5 separate regions of the Homo sapiens genome follow, and regions 2, 3, 4 and 5 are each linked to region 1. The links are contacts of gene promoters, found by promoter capture Hi-C in human tissues and cell types (Jung and others, 2019). All regions are on one chromosome and are shown on one strand. Each heading gives the region's core, a stretch centred on a gene start or on the middle of the fragment in contact. The rest is flanking DNA. Distances are from core to core; before and after follow the strand shown.

Region 1 (2,661 bases), core at 162-2,661:
CAACCCAAATTAAGCAGAATAGCCTCCCCTCCGCATACACTAGTTAGGCACTACCACTCACTATTAGCTCCAGATCTTCCTTCTTGATAGTGACTTTTGCCAGTTCTTTCTCCCTGCAAAAATATTTAAATATATTAGTCCTCATTCTCAACCAACACCATAAACTCCCAGGAAGGGTCATTCCCAGAAGTGCCCTGTAAATAAATCTTGATAAACCCTTGATTGAAAATAAAAACTCCCACTAATACTCCTTTCCCCTGGAGTCTTGGCAGCAGGTGTTGCCAGGAGGCCTTCTGCTAACAAGAGTAAAGTTGTGGCGCCTAGATCTGCAGGAATTGGTGATAAATTTGAAGAACGGTATAAAGGCTTAATAATGGTTTTTATTTTTGTCTGGGGACCGGGGAGGGAAGAACTGTTAAAGTTGGCTGCCCCTGAAGACTTACCGCTCCTGTTTGGCTTTCTGCTCCCGGGACCTTCTGTCTCCAATCACAGACATGGCCTATGGGAAAGGCAGGTCTAGTTACTGCACCGCTACCCACAATTCCCAATAATCTAAAAGGCCAACAAAACAAGCGGTTCATGCATGGATTCACGATGACAAGTGTTACCAGGTAGCAAGGACTATGTTTAATTCCATTCTATGCACCTGAGGTCCCCTTAAGCCCACTATCAAGCTCCTTTAGGCAAGCGGCGCGCTCCGGTGACCGCTGTTTCCCTCGGCTCTACCCTATTGCCTCCTCCTGCCAACGGGATCAGAACCCCGTCTTGGAGCGCTGGCTTCCAGCTACAGCCTCAGAGCCCCCCTCTGCTCTCAGCCCGCCCCGACATGCTCTTGGCCAACCTTACCGTCTCCAGATTGGAACTCTGGATCTCCTTCTCCTCTGCATAGTCGGTGACCCGCTCCAAGTCCGCCGCACCGCTGTCATGTTTCCGTGGCTTCTCCGGAGGCCGCTCTGGTCCACTGGTCTCAGTCTCCAACTCCAGCTCCACATCCCCCTCGGTCGCCATATCTATTTCACCACGCCGCCGCATAAGCCCCACCTCACGCCGACTTCCGGCAACTGACACAGCTTCCGCCCGGGGAGGAGGCGGGGCTGGCCCTGGGCCACACCTTCTTTCTGCTCCAGTTCTAGAAGCTTCAGGGAGGAAGGCGGTTCGTCTCTCAGACTTCCTTTCGGGTTTGTACAGTGTTTTGTGCGAGGCCTTCTCTCAGACCTAACCCGACACCGCTCCAGCCCACCCCACCGATATCCTTAACCACCTCATAAACTAGGAATAGTCCCCTCAACACATAAACACGCACCCACCCACCTCAGGGAACTCCGTTCAACCTGAATGACGTCTAATCCTAAACCAATAAAGAATGCTAATCCACAGGGGGCCAGATAGACAAACTGCCCCCTAATCTGGAGAGAACAGCCTGAGTGGCCGCAGTGTTGAGGCCCTAAGGACAAAGCTCCTTCACAGGGCATTTGCATTTACCGCAACCTGGAGGTCAGTGTTCTCTTCCGGACGTCTCCATTCTGCCCGGGACCGGGTGCTCAGCCCCAACACAGTGGCAGTCCAATGGGCTGAGGACAGAAGCAACTGCTGCTCTCATCTGCCTTCCATCTGGTGGACCTAAGCCTAATCCCTGGGACAAGGATGGTGGGTGCCAAGGCCGGCCCCAGCCCCGGCACCTCCCTGGGCCTGGCACAGCAGCACAGCGGAGGCAGCAGTGTCCTAGTGAAAAGTCCCTTCTGTCAGGTGAGAGGGTGCGAAGGGGAGAGTGGCCGAAGCTGGGGAGGAAGACGTGCAGAAGCCAATAAAAACGACAGGCCTCTTTTCTCCTCTAATGTCGTTCTGGTTCGTTGCCCCAGGTATAATCTGTAAATCTCTCCCGCCATGTTTCCAGCCCCAGGTGTTTAGGTCGAGAGAAAGGTCAGATATCTCAAGCCTGCTTATAATGAAAGCCCTACTAAGTTGTCAGTGGGCGGCAATCCCAAATGGCTGGAATCAGCTTGAAACAGAACCTGAGTAAAAGGAAGAAAGGGGAAGGGGAAATTTTGGAATTCAACCTCCTGGGTTAACCTCACACATACATTAACGTATGCCTTTCCTCAGCAAGTCTCCACCTCGCTGCCTTGCATCTGCTCTACTCCCAGGTGTGCTGCTGTGGGCCTGCTCCTTGTGCCAGCTGCTGCCACTCTAGGTGGCCCTCTCTCACCGCATCCACTTGCAGCCGCCTGTTCTACATCCTCCTCCATGTGGGGGCCTCAGCAATCTGCTGCCTCCTGCTGTCAAGGACAGTAGTGGAAAGGGTGTGGGGCAAGACACACAGGGTAAGTGAGAGGGGGTCGGGTTGTCAGGTGGGAAGAGATAAAAGGAAAAACCCTAAGATAGAAAAGGTTTCGGTTGGGGGCAGGAGACAAATGAGTGGTCATACCCGTGACAAGTAGGTACCTTTCCATGCATTATGACTTGTCCTGCCATTTCTCTCACACACACTCCCAGATCCAGATGCCCTCGGGGTTGTGTGCCCACCTGTTTGGCCTCTCTGACTGTCCAGTGCTCAGTGGCTCTGGGGCTGTGTACCGAGTATGTGCAGGAACCGCCACCTTCCACCTGCTGCAGGCTGTGTTGCTGGTCCACCTCCACTCCCCCACCAGCCCGCGGGCACAG
Region 2 (2,661 bases), core at 111-2,610, 470 kb before region 1:
CTGCTATTTAGTTTATACATATGTCACCTTGTTATAGATTGTGAGATCCCTAAAGATAAGGACTATGTCCTTATCTTTCCACCATTTAGCACTGTGGCTGACATATATCATGTTTGATAAAGGAACATGATTTATTTCCTCTGGGTGGTATTTGACTAATCCTTGGTCTTTCTATCACATATAAAGAAAATCCTAAAATAGATGAATTTTTCATGTTGAATTGTCTGAATTCGTATGAATGTATGAATTTGGGGGTGTTTTTTAAAAGTGGAAATAATTTAATGTTTTTTAATGCTTATGAACATGCTCAGAGCAAAAAAAAAAAAAATCAGATAGTCAGAATGGGAAAACAAACAGTGAAAATCACCAACAGTTTCATCCACCAAAGTAAAACCACAGTTAACATTCTAGCATAGAGCTTTCCAGACTTTTTCCTTTTTCCTTTTTTTTTTTTTTTTTTTTTTTTTTGAGATAGAGTCTTGCTTTATCACCCAGGCTGGAGTTCAGTGGCACAACCATAACTCACTGTAACTTCGGACTCCTGGGCTCAAGCCATCCTCAGTCTCCCAAGTAGCTGAGATCACAGGTGCATGCCACCATGCCCAGGTAATTTTTATTTTTGCAGAGATGGGGGTCTCACTATATTACCAAGGCTGATCTTGAACTTCTGGCGTCAAGTGATCCTCCCTCCTCGGCCTCCCAAAGCACAGGATTACAGGCATGAGCCACCACTCCTGGGCCCATCAATGCATTTTTAATGCATATCAAAAGTACCATGTGTATTGTTTTGTGACCTGCTTTTTCACTTAACAATATCTTGCAGGCAACTTTCCATGTAATAAATTTATTGCTACATATCCGTTTTTGGTCAATGCATAGAACGATGTACTATATACTTTATTTAACGAATCTCCTATAGATGATCACTAAGTATTTTAGGTAGCTTCTTATGGTCGCCCAGAACAAAGACATCCCTCAAGACACTTTATTTTTATTTTATTATTATTATTTTTAGAGAGAGTCTTAGTCTGTCACCCAGGCTGGAGTGCAGTGGTGCAATCCTGGCTCACTGCAACCTCTACCTCCTGGGTTCAAACGATTCTCATGCTTCAGCCTCCCGAGTAGCTGGGATGCATGCCACGACACCCAGCTAATTTTTGTATTTTTAGTAGACATAGGGTTTCGCCATGTTGGCCAGGCTGGTTTCGAACTCCTGACCTCAGGTGATCCACCCACCTCGGCCTCCTAAAATGCTGGGATTATAGGCATAAGCCACCATGCCCAGCTGGCAAGATACTTTAAAAATGTAGGAAAGACTCATTCAGATTTCCTCAAGGATCAAGAGGGCAAGTTAAAGGATGTTCAGTCCATAGATCAAAACTGGAACCAGAAGTCCATCTATCAGGACACAGCTCTATAAACCAACTACTCTTTCTGACACTTCTTTTTTTTTCTGACTGAGTCTTGCTCTGTTGTCCAGGCTGGAATGCAGTGGTGTGATCTCAGCTCACTGCAACCTCCACCTCCCGGCTTCAAGCCATTTTCCTGCCTCAGCCTCCCCAGTAGCTGGGATTACAGGCACCTGCCACCATGCCCAGCTAATTTTTGTATTTTTAGTAGAGATGGGGTTTCACCATGTTGTTCAGGCTGGTCATGAACTCCTGACTTCAGGTGTTCTGCCCGCCTCAGCCTCCCAAAGTGCTGGGGTTATAGGCATGAGCCACTGCGCCCAGCCTCTTTCTGACACTTCTGTCTCTCCTCTCATCTCCATGTCTCCCCAATTTTCTCTTCTTCTTCAGAGTTTTTGCTTCCTCTCAACTTCCACTTGTACAGAGCTTTGACTTGGCTTGCTCTCGTCTCCTACATGTGATATTCTTTTGGTTTCTGTCCCTTATTGTCAGTAAGTAGAAGTTCAGATATTTTTATCCTATACCCAGAGGATGATCTTGTACACTCCACTTGAGATCCCCGGTGTAGAAGTGAAAGAAGTAGCGAGAAATGGAGGTGAAGAGATAAGTGGGGGCCAGATCATAGAGAGCTCATATTAAAGAGTCTGGCTTTTTACCCAAGAGTAAGAGAAAACCACTAAAAGATTTTAGGAATATTTATGATTTAGGAAGACTTTTCTAGCTAAGTGTGATTGTGCCTGCAAGTCTGTAGATGGCAGGAAGGCTAGTTGAGAGACTGTTGCAACAATTCATATGAGAAACATTAGAGTCCAAGAAACATCCCAGAAACAGTTTTTAACTTGGACAGTTCTATCAGTGCTGGGGGCATTCCCTGAAACAGGAACTCTGGAGAGCTGATGAGCTTACAAGTCGTTTCTATAAGGCAGAAGGTTTTCTAGTTGAACGAAAAATTACACATTACTTCACTAAGTCCTTGAAGATCTTCATCTGACAACCTCAGACCTTTTCTACTCTCAAATTCTATTCAAGAGCTGTTTGGGGTTGTGGTTGTCTTAAGTCTTAAACCATGAAGCTAATTTTTACTCCTCTAGCTTTATCCTTTGTCATAATGAAATAAATTTTCTTGACTGAATAACATGTCATGCCTTTTACCTCCTCCTGCCAATGTGTGACGGATATGTAAGAAAAAAATACTAAAAAAATTTTTGATAATCCATTCACAAAGTGTGATCTTTCTCCATGTTCCCCCCAC
Region 3 (2,661 bases), core at 117-2,616, 430 kb after region 1:
TCCCAGATCTGCTGGGCTCTAAGGAGAAAGAACTTCCAAGTGGCAGCCACATAGGAGACAGACGAGTGCATGCTGATCTGTTACCATCCAAGAAAGATAGAAGAAGCTGGGTGGAACAGGATCACTGGAGCTTTGAAGATGAGAAGGTGGCAGGTGTGCACTGGGGCTATGAAGAGACCAGAACGCTCCTCGCAATTCTCAGCCAGACTGAGTTTTATGAGGCTCTCAGAAACTGCCATAGGAACAGCCAAGTGTATGGGGCTGTGGCTGAGCGGCTCAGGGAATATGGCTTCCTCCGGACCCTGGAACAGTGTCGGACCAAGTTCAAAGGTCTCCAGAAGAGCTATCGGAAAGTCAAGAGCGGCCACCCACCTGAGACCTGCCCCTTCTTTGAAGAGATGGAAGCCCTGATGAGTGCTCAGGTCATTGCCCTGCCCAGTAATGGCCTGGAAGCAGCAGCCTCTCACTCTGGCCTGGTAGGCAGCGATGCTGAGACTGAAGAGCCAGGGCAGAGGGGCTGGCAGCATGAGGAGGGAGCAGAAGAGGCTGTGGCTCAGGAGTCTGACAGTGATGACATGGATCTAGAGGCGACCCCCCAGGACCCCAACTCAGCTGCACCTGTTGTGTTCAGAAGCCCAGGTGGTAAGAAGCTTTTCTTCTTGGAGTTTTGGAATTAGACTTGGGGAACAAAGAGACTGGATGTGGAGTCAGAAGGCTTAATGTCACATGCCAGCTTTGCCACTTAGGGAACAAAGAAGTGCTTCTCCATTCTTTGTGTGTATTTCATTCTCTTTTATGGGAAAATCAGTGAGATAATTGGGAATACATTTAGATTTTTAGAAGAAATACACTCAGAAAATTCACAGTCCTGAGAAGGAGTATCATTCCTTCCATTTCTTTACTAAACTATTTTTTTCCCTGATTTTAAAATCATTGCAGCAGGCTCACTGAGAAAAATGTGGCACAATATTATCTTTAAGTAGAACCAGTGTTTATTGAGTATGTCATATGAACTTGATGTTTTACATATTTTATCTTTTACTTCCCCAAAGCTCAAAGTCAGTTTATTATATTCGTTTTTACTTAGAATAGTACAGTGAAGAATTGTCCAAAGTTGGGGAAACATTTTTTTCTTTAAAAATTTTAAAATATATTTAAACAGAGACAGGGTCTTGCTGTGTTGCCCAGGCTGGTCTCACTGGGTTCAAGCAGTCCTCCCACCTCAGCCTTCTGAGTAGTTAGGACTACAGGTGTGAGCCACCACACTGAGCTGGGAAACATCTAAGTTTCCTCTGAGATTCATAGTATACATTGGCATTTTAACAGGATTGAGAAGTCCTACAGTGAGAAAGCTTGTTTAACACTCTATTTAAATATTCTTGCCTATGGAATCCTTTTTAAAGTATCATTTACTACCATTAATGTAATCGGTACAACTATGCTGTTATGGAAAGAGCACCAAAGTATGACTCAGGAGGCTTAGATTCTAATCCTGATGACCACTAATAAACTGGGCGACCTTGAGCAGTTATCTAACCATTCTAAGCTTCCATTTCCTCAAGTGTAAAATGGGGCAAAGCAGGAGGACTACATCGCTAAAGTTGCAGTTCCTTTGTGAGCAGTGGTCTTTTCCTTCTGTTTTTTGTGACATGCATGATCTTATTTTAGTTCTGTTCTAGCTTTCTGGTCTTTGTGTCTTCTGCTTTTTCGTTTCTCTTTATTTTTCTTGTTTTCTTCATTCTCTTTTTCCTTTTTTGTTGCAGACACAAATATATGTAGGTTAATTAAATGTGGCACATGTGCTCAATGTTATTTTCATTATCATTGTTCTTTCACTTTTTTTTTTTTTTTTTTTTTTTGAGACAGAGTCGCTTTGTTGTCCAGGCTGGAGTGCAGTGGTGTGATCTCATCTCACTGCAACCTCCACCTCCCCAGTTCAAGCGATTCTCGATTCTCATGCCTCAGCCTCCCAAGTAGCTGGGACTATAGGTGCACACCACCACGCCTGGCTAATTTTTCTGTGTTTTTAGTAGAGACAGGCTTTCACCATGTTGTCCAGGCTGGTCTCAAACTCCTGGCCCCAAGCGATCCACAGGGATTACAGGCATAAGCCACTGTGCCTGGCCAGCTTCTTTTTTATATGGCTAAACAGAATTTGTAAATAAAGGTCTCTGTGAAATTGCTAAAGGATATAAAGAAGCAAAACATTCTATACTGAGTTTGTGGATTTTGGAAACATGAAGTATTTTTACTTTTTCATCTAGGAGCCTGAGCTTAGGTGAATTCTCATGATGCAGATGATAGGACTGAGGAATTCAGGCTCTAAAGCTCTGGATTAAGTGGTGCTGAAATTTCTCTTCTGGTGGCAGGTGTACACTGGGGCTATGAAGAGACCAAGACTTACCTTGCAATTCTTAGTGAGACCCAGTTTTATGAAGCCCTCCGGAACTGTCACCGCAACAGCCAGCTGTATGGAGCAGTGGCTGAGAGGTTATGGGAATATGGCTTTCTTAGGACCCCAGAACAGTGTCGGACCAAGTTTAAAAGCCTGCAAACCAGCTATCGGAAAGTTAAGAATGGCCAGGCACCAGAGACCTGTCCCTTCTTTGAAGAGATGGATGCTTTGGTGAGTGTCCGGGTTGCTGCCCCACCCAATGATGG
Region 4 (2,661 bases), core at 60-2,559, 380 kb after region 1:
GCAGGCGGATTGCTTAAGCTCAGGAGTTTGAGTCCACAGTGAGCTATGATCATGACACTGCACTCCAGCCTGGGAAACAGTGAGACCCTGTCTCTTAAAAAAAAATATGCCACAGAGGTGAAATGCCCTTCTCATGTTATCATATAAGGACCTGGGAAGGTTTGTGATGTATCCACATGACATCACTGATGCAGGATGTTAATCTTCATCACTGGTTAAGGTTGTATTTGCCAGATTTCTTCACTTTTTTTTGAAACAGTCTCACTCACTCTGTTTCCCAGGCTAGAGTGCAGTGGCGCAATCTAGGCTCACTGCAACCTCTAGCTTCCGGGTACAAGTGAGTCTCCTGCCTCAGTCTCCTGAGTAGCTAGGATTACAGGTGTGCCCCACCAGACCCGGCTAATTTTTGTATTTTTAGTGGGGATGGCATTTCGCCATATTGGCCAGGCTGGTCTCAAACTCCTGAGCTCAGGTGATCTACCTGCCTTGGCCTCCCAAAATGCTGGGTTTGCAGGCGTGAGCCACTGCAAGAGAGGGACAGGTGGCCTTCTCTAAAGTTAGTGTTTTTCCCTTTCCATACTCTCTTCTTTTTTAAAGCTTAGCTACCTGCTTTGATTGGAACCCAGTAGGTGATATTGAGATATTTTTGCTTAGGGAGAAGTTTTTAGTGCTGTGTCTGTATGACTGCACATCTACCACTTATTCTCTGGTTTGAAGAACAGTGCCTTTTTATTTTTGAAGTAGGTAATATTGGTGATAGTGAGAGGTTTATGCTTGTGGTTATGCTTGTTGTTATTGTTTCATGTGCTAGTTCTTTGAATATATTGTCTCCTTTCTATGGAAATAATTTGAAGATACCTATTTGTGTTGAGTTTGTCATTTAAAAACATCTTTCTGAGGACTTTTTGAACATGGATTGGCATATAATGGGGGAAAATGGCTTTCTTTCTATCTTTTTTTTTTTTTTTGAGACACAGTTTCACTCTGCCTCCTAGACTGGAGTGCAGTGAGTGGCGTGATCTTGGCTCACTGCAACCTCTGCCTCCTGGGTTCAAGTGTTTCTCGTGCCTCAGCCTCCCGAGTAGCTGGGTTTACAGGCACGCACCACCACACCTGGCTAATTTTTTTTTGTGTTTTTCGTAGAGATGGGGTTTCGCCACATTGGCCAGGCTGGTCTCGAACTCCCAACCTCAACTTATCTGCCTGCCTCAGCCTCCCAAAGTGCTGGGATTACAGACGTGAGCCACCATGCCCAGCCAAAAAATGGATTTTTTTTTTTTTTTTTTTTTTTTTAAAAACAGAGCCTTGCTCTGTCGCCCAGGCTGGAGTGCAATGGCACGATCTTGGCTCACTGCAACCTCCGCCTCTGGTGTTCAAGTGATTCTCTTGCCTCAGCCTCCCAAGTAGCTGGGATTACAGGTGCATGCCACAACACCTGGTTAATCTTTGTATTTTTAGTAGAGACAGGGCTTTGCCATCTTGGTCAGGCTGGTCTTGAATTCCTGACCTCAAGCCATCCACCCGCCCCAGCCTCCCAAAGTGCTGGGATTACAGTAGTGAGCCACTGCTCCCGGCTGGAAAAATGGCTTTCTGTTGGAGTCCATCCAGGCTTCTCTTGTATTTGGAATCCTCTGAGTAATTGTTGTTTGCCCTTTGTTCATTATTAAATGGGCCACTTCACCTTCTAGTTCTGGATAACATTGTTAGCTATATATGGGATCAGTTGGGAGTAGCACATGGATTGGGGTCTTTTATTGTGACTCATAGTTTGTATGTATCAAATGCATTCGTTCTTCTTTCAGGTGTAAAGCTACTCTTAGGGGTTCATATTTGGCCTTTTAAAGACGGAGTTCTGTAACAAGAGTGAACTGTGGCATCAAGGTGTGGGGATTCTGTGTCCCATTTCTTGAGGCTGTTTGCTCATGTCAACACTAGACTACTTCTAGTTCTAGTAGCTCTTCATTAGTGTGAAGTATATTGTTGGCCTTGGGCTTCTTTGTGTTTTTGAGGGAGTCTTTGTGACTTAGTTTGGGGATAGAGATTTAAGCTAGGAGATGAACAAGTAAGGGAAAAGGGAGTGATTCCACAGGATAGATAGAGAACCAAGGCTTGCTTTCTCTGTGTTATTTTCCTTGGGTGGGGTAGGCTCTGGGTTTCTTTTAGCTCTTCATTCAAGCATAGGCTAATGGGTGAGAAGAAATTGGACCCTTCTGTTTATAGGAATGAAAAAATATTCATAGTAATGCCTTGTTTTTGTATTGTATATGTGTGTGGGGGTGGGGGGGTGTGTATCTATAGCTATAGTATGTGTGTGTGTTGTAAATTGTTTATTCATTGATAGGAAGAAGTGTTCTTTTTCACAGGCTTAGTAATGGGTCCTGCCCAAGATCACACAGCTTGGTGGCAGCAGAATTAGGCCTAGGCTCAGTTCTCCTGAATTATAGCTTAGTTTCCTTTTACATCCCACATTTTGTTCCTTTTAACATAAAGGCCTTATCAGGTTTTGAATCAGAGCAGGAAAGTAGATAATAGAGAGGAAGATTAGGTAGGAGAGGCAGGATCTGTTTTTTCCTTTCTTTGCTCTCTAATTTTGCTACACACACAGAGAGAAAACACACACATGCTGTCTCTCTTAGAATGATGTCATTTTTCACCTACAGC
Region 5 (2,661 bases), core at 91-2,590, 300 kb before region 1:
GGATACTGGTGGCCCTTGGCAACAAACAATCTCCATCTCTCTTGAGGGAGTCAGGATGCCAAGCAAATTTTGAGGAACAGATAATAGAATAATGATATGAATCAAAATAGGGGCCAAGAATCCCAAATTCACTTCTTCCTTCCATTCTCCAGAACCCATGATTGCAGTTTCCACATTTTTTTTTCAGTTTTAACAGTCTCCTTTTTCATAATCATATGATGGGAATTCATGTGTGTCAAAGAGATTACTTGGACATTACCACCTCCAAGAGAGGTCATGGTAGATTGTCTTACTGTTGAAAATGTGGTCCATGGATCAGCAGAAGCAGCAGCAGCATTACCTGGGAGTTTGTTAGGATTTCATAATCTCAGGCCCCACTCTAGACCTACTGAATCAGAATCTGTATTTTAACAAGATCCTCAGGTGGTTTGCATGCATGTTAAAGTTTGAGGAGCATTGGTAGAGGGAACTGTGGCTATTTATTTTATTGGTCATGTGCATACTAATTTCCCGACCTCTCTTGATTATTAAAATGACTGTGAACTTACTAGAACTACAACATATTGATGTGAGGGAGGTGTTTATATGTGAAGGTGATTGGCTTCCATGCAGAAACCATGTAACACCCAGCCTGAACAGTTTCTGATGAGGTTGCCCTTAACCTAGGAAACTGAAAGATAATGTTGTCGTGTTTTTGATATATGACTGCTGTCCTGCTCAACTTTATAAACATGTCCAGGAGGTGGGGAGCAGTTTGCTACTCTTCATTTGCAAATCAATTATCTTTATATAAGTAGCAAATAGTCTATTTTAAAAGCTCAAAAGATAATTTTTAAATGAGAATTTGCTTTGCATGAAGTGTGTAGATGTTGGAAAAAGGTGACTTTGTCTAATTATTCTAATATATGAAGTTTAAAGGAATTAAGAGAATGTAAAAAATGGAGGCAGTAAAACGTAGAGTCTTCTTTAAGTCACAACTGTGACAGGGTCTCTTCAAGAGGCATCAGAAGTGACAAATGACCATTGGTGAGGAAATGGTACATTTGCAGTTTGGGTTCATAGTTTTCTAACTCTGTGGATAAAGAAAGACTCAAGGCTCTGACAGAAACTAAGTCATAGATTGCTTTTCTGCTTATGTCTCTCTCTCTCTTTTTTTTTTTTTTTTGAGACAGAGTCTTGCTGTGTCGCCAGGCTGGAGTGCAGTGGCATGATCTCGGCTCACTGCAACCTCTGCCTCCTGAGTTCAAGTGATTCTCCTGCCTCAGCCTCCCAAGTAGCTGGGACTACAGGCATGCACCACCACACCCAGCTAATATTTGTATTTTTAGTAGAGATAGGGTTTCACCATGTTGGTTAGGATGGTCTCGATCTCTTGACCTCGTGATCTGCCCGCCTTGGCCTCCCAAAGTGCTAGGATTACAGGCGTGAGCCACTGCACCCGGCCTTGTATCCCTTTTAGTAGAGAGTATGCTTCCTGTTCATTGAAGAGTCAGGTGACAGAGAGTAACATAATCATTGAAGCTTGGACTTTTTATTTAGTTTTTTGTTGTTGTTGTTTAGTTTTTTTTTTTTTGTTTTGTCACTCTGAACTTTTGGGAGCATGGCATTACTTTCTGGCTGCTTTAGGCATTTGGCTCTTGCTGATGCACATAACACAGGGTCAGGCCAGGTTCATGCTGCTGCAGGTCCTTTCTCCCAGACTTTAAGAAGATGACATTTTACATTAGGATGCAGTAAACATGTCATTCAAAGGCCATTCTGCAGCTCCTGGAGCACAAAGACTTGCTGAGTTTGCCATGATTGCATGCAAATTTTTGAAAAGTCAAATGCATGTATAAAACAGTTTGTCAGGCTGCTATTGGAGGAAAACAAGAACAAGTTGAAATCAATTGTTTGGGAAGAACATTTTGGCATGGTTTCTCTGAAGTTGAGTAAACATAATTTGTCCTATGTACCCATCTGGGCACACAGTAGCAGTCCTTCTGCCCACGGAAGGAGTTTGCACACATTAGACAAATTACTAGTCTGAATCTCCAAGACACAGATAGACGGTTCTGTGTGTGTATATATTTGTGTTTATACACTGTAACATATTATTCTATATACAGTGTTAAAGGCAGAGCCCTCCCCGAGGTACACTGCTTTCTTCAGAGCTTCCCTATAGTCTGCTCTGGTAGCACCTCCTACTTCTTTTAAGGTTAGTACAGGAGCCCCTCTTCTTGTCTGGTTGACCTGGACACTTTCATAGCCATGTCATTCTAAGGGTTCAGGTCTGACCCAGATAAGCCCTAAGGCCCAGACTGCTTGTCTGAAGTCTCCCAAGAGCACAGTTTTGCAGAGGCAAAGTGAGGCTTTGCTAAAGGCACTTCAGAATTTTTCTACAAAGCTTGCTGTTCCTACAGGTGAGGGTAGCTGTTTTTTTCTCCCCTTAGGTTTACTTTACTCTCACTCATCAACTCTGGCAAAGTGGATTTAACCATCAGATGTATTCTTTATTTCAGAGAACAAAGTGGTTTTGTTGGACTTCTTGTTCTCTCACTAGCTTTTGTGAAGGAAAAAAATCCTGCATGTTCCATACTAAAATGATAGCATTATAATTTTGCATCATTACATTATTTAACTGTTATCAGTAAATCTATGAATAAACTCTTCGAGACATCC

Evidence for each region. Contacts are between HindIII fragments. The study calls those that stand out against the background at their distance.
Region 2: a fragment that was not itself captured here is called in contact with the fragment with the promoter of SERINC4 in region 1 in 1 of the 25 tissues and cell types used here (hippocampus).
Region 3: a fragment that was not itself captured here is called in contact with the fragment with the promoter of SERINC4 in region 1 in 2 of the 25 tissues and cell types used here (dorsolateral prefrontal cortex and hippocampus).
Region 4: a contact is called between a fragment that was not itself captured here and the fragment with the promoter of SERINC4 in region 1, in 1 of the 25 tissues and cell types used here (dorsolateral prefrontal cortex).
Region 5: a contact is called between a fragment that was not itself captured here and the fragment with the promoter of SERINC4 in region 1, in 3 of the 25 tissues and cell types used here (dorsolateral prefrontal cortex, hippocampus and thymus).

The regions. Positions count from the first base shown.
Region 1 is chr15:43,798,970-43,801,630 of GRCh38, reverse strand. SERINC4 (serine incorporator 4) reads left to right here and starts at 1,411. Exons shown (of 12, transcript NM_001258031.2): 1 at 1,411-1,746; 2 at 2,145-2,321; 3 at 2,494-2,661. The coding sequence starts at 1,645. HYPK (huntingtin interacting protein K) reads right to left here and starts at 1,032. Exons shown (of 4, transcript NM_016400.4): 1 at 847-1,032; 2 at 444-499; 3 at 62-113. The coding sequence starts at 1,008. SERF2-C15ORF63 (SERF2-C15orf63 readthrough) reads right to left here. Exons shown (of 6, transcript NR_037673.1): 3 at 847-1,136; 4 at 444-499; 5 at 62-113. RefSeq lists enhancers at 756-1,005, 913-1,613, 1,614-2,314. The HindIII fragment of the contact is 6,811 bases long and covers 1-2,661 here.
Region 2 is chr15:44,270,820-44,273,480 of GRCh38, reverse strand. No RefSeq gene overlaps it. Among named protein-coding and RNA genes, the nearest start is that of GOLM2, 17 kb to the left of the region's middle. The HindIII fragment of the contact is 7,175 bases long and covers 1-2,661 here.
Region 3 is chr15:43,364,091-43,366,751 of GRCh38, reverse strand. It overlaps ZSCAN29 (zinc finger and SCAN domain containing 29), which reads left to right. Exons shown (of 6, transcript NM_001372080.1): 4 at 1-642; 5 at 2,370-2,661. Among named protein-coding and RNA genes, the nearest start is that of ZSCAN29, 5.6 kb to the left of the region's middle. The HindIII fragment of the contact is 3,910 bases long and covers 1-2,661 here.
Region 4 is chr15:43,416,813-43,419,473 of GRCh38, reverse strand. All of the region lies in intron 21 of TP53BP1 (tumor protein p53 binding protein 1), which reads left to right. Among named protein-coding and RNA genes, the nearest start is that of TUBGCP4, 47 kb to the right of the region's middle. The HindIII fragment of the contact is 3,950 bases long and covers 1-2,661 here.
Region 5 is chr15:44,097,028-44,099,688 of GRCh38, reverse strand. The region is part of intron 1 of FRMD5 (FERM domain containing 5); the gene reads left to right. Among named protein-coding and RNA genes, the nearest start is that of FRMD5, 97 kb to the left of the region's middle. The HindIII fragment of the contact is 4,483 bases long and covers 1-2,661 here.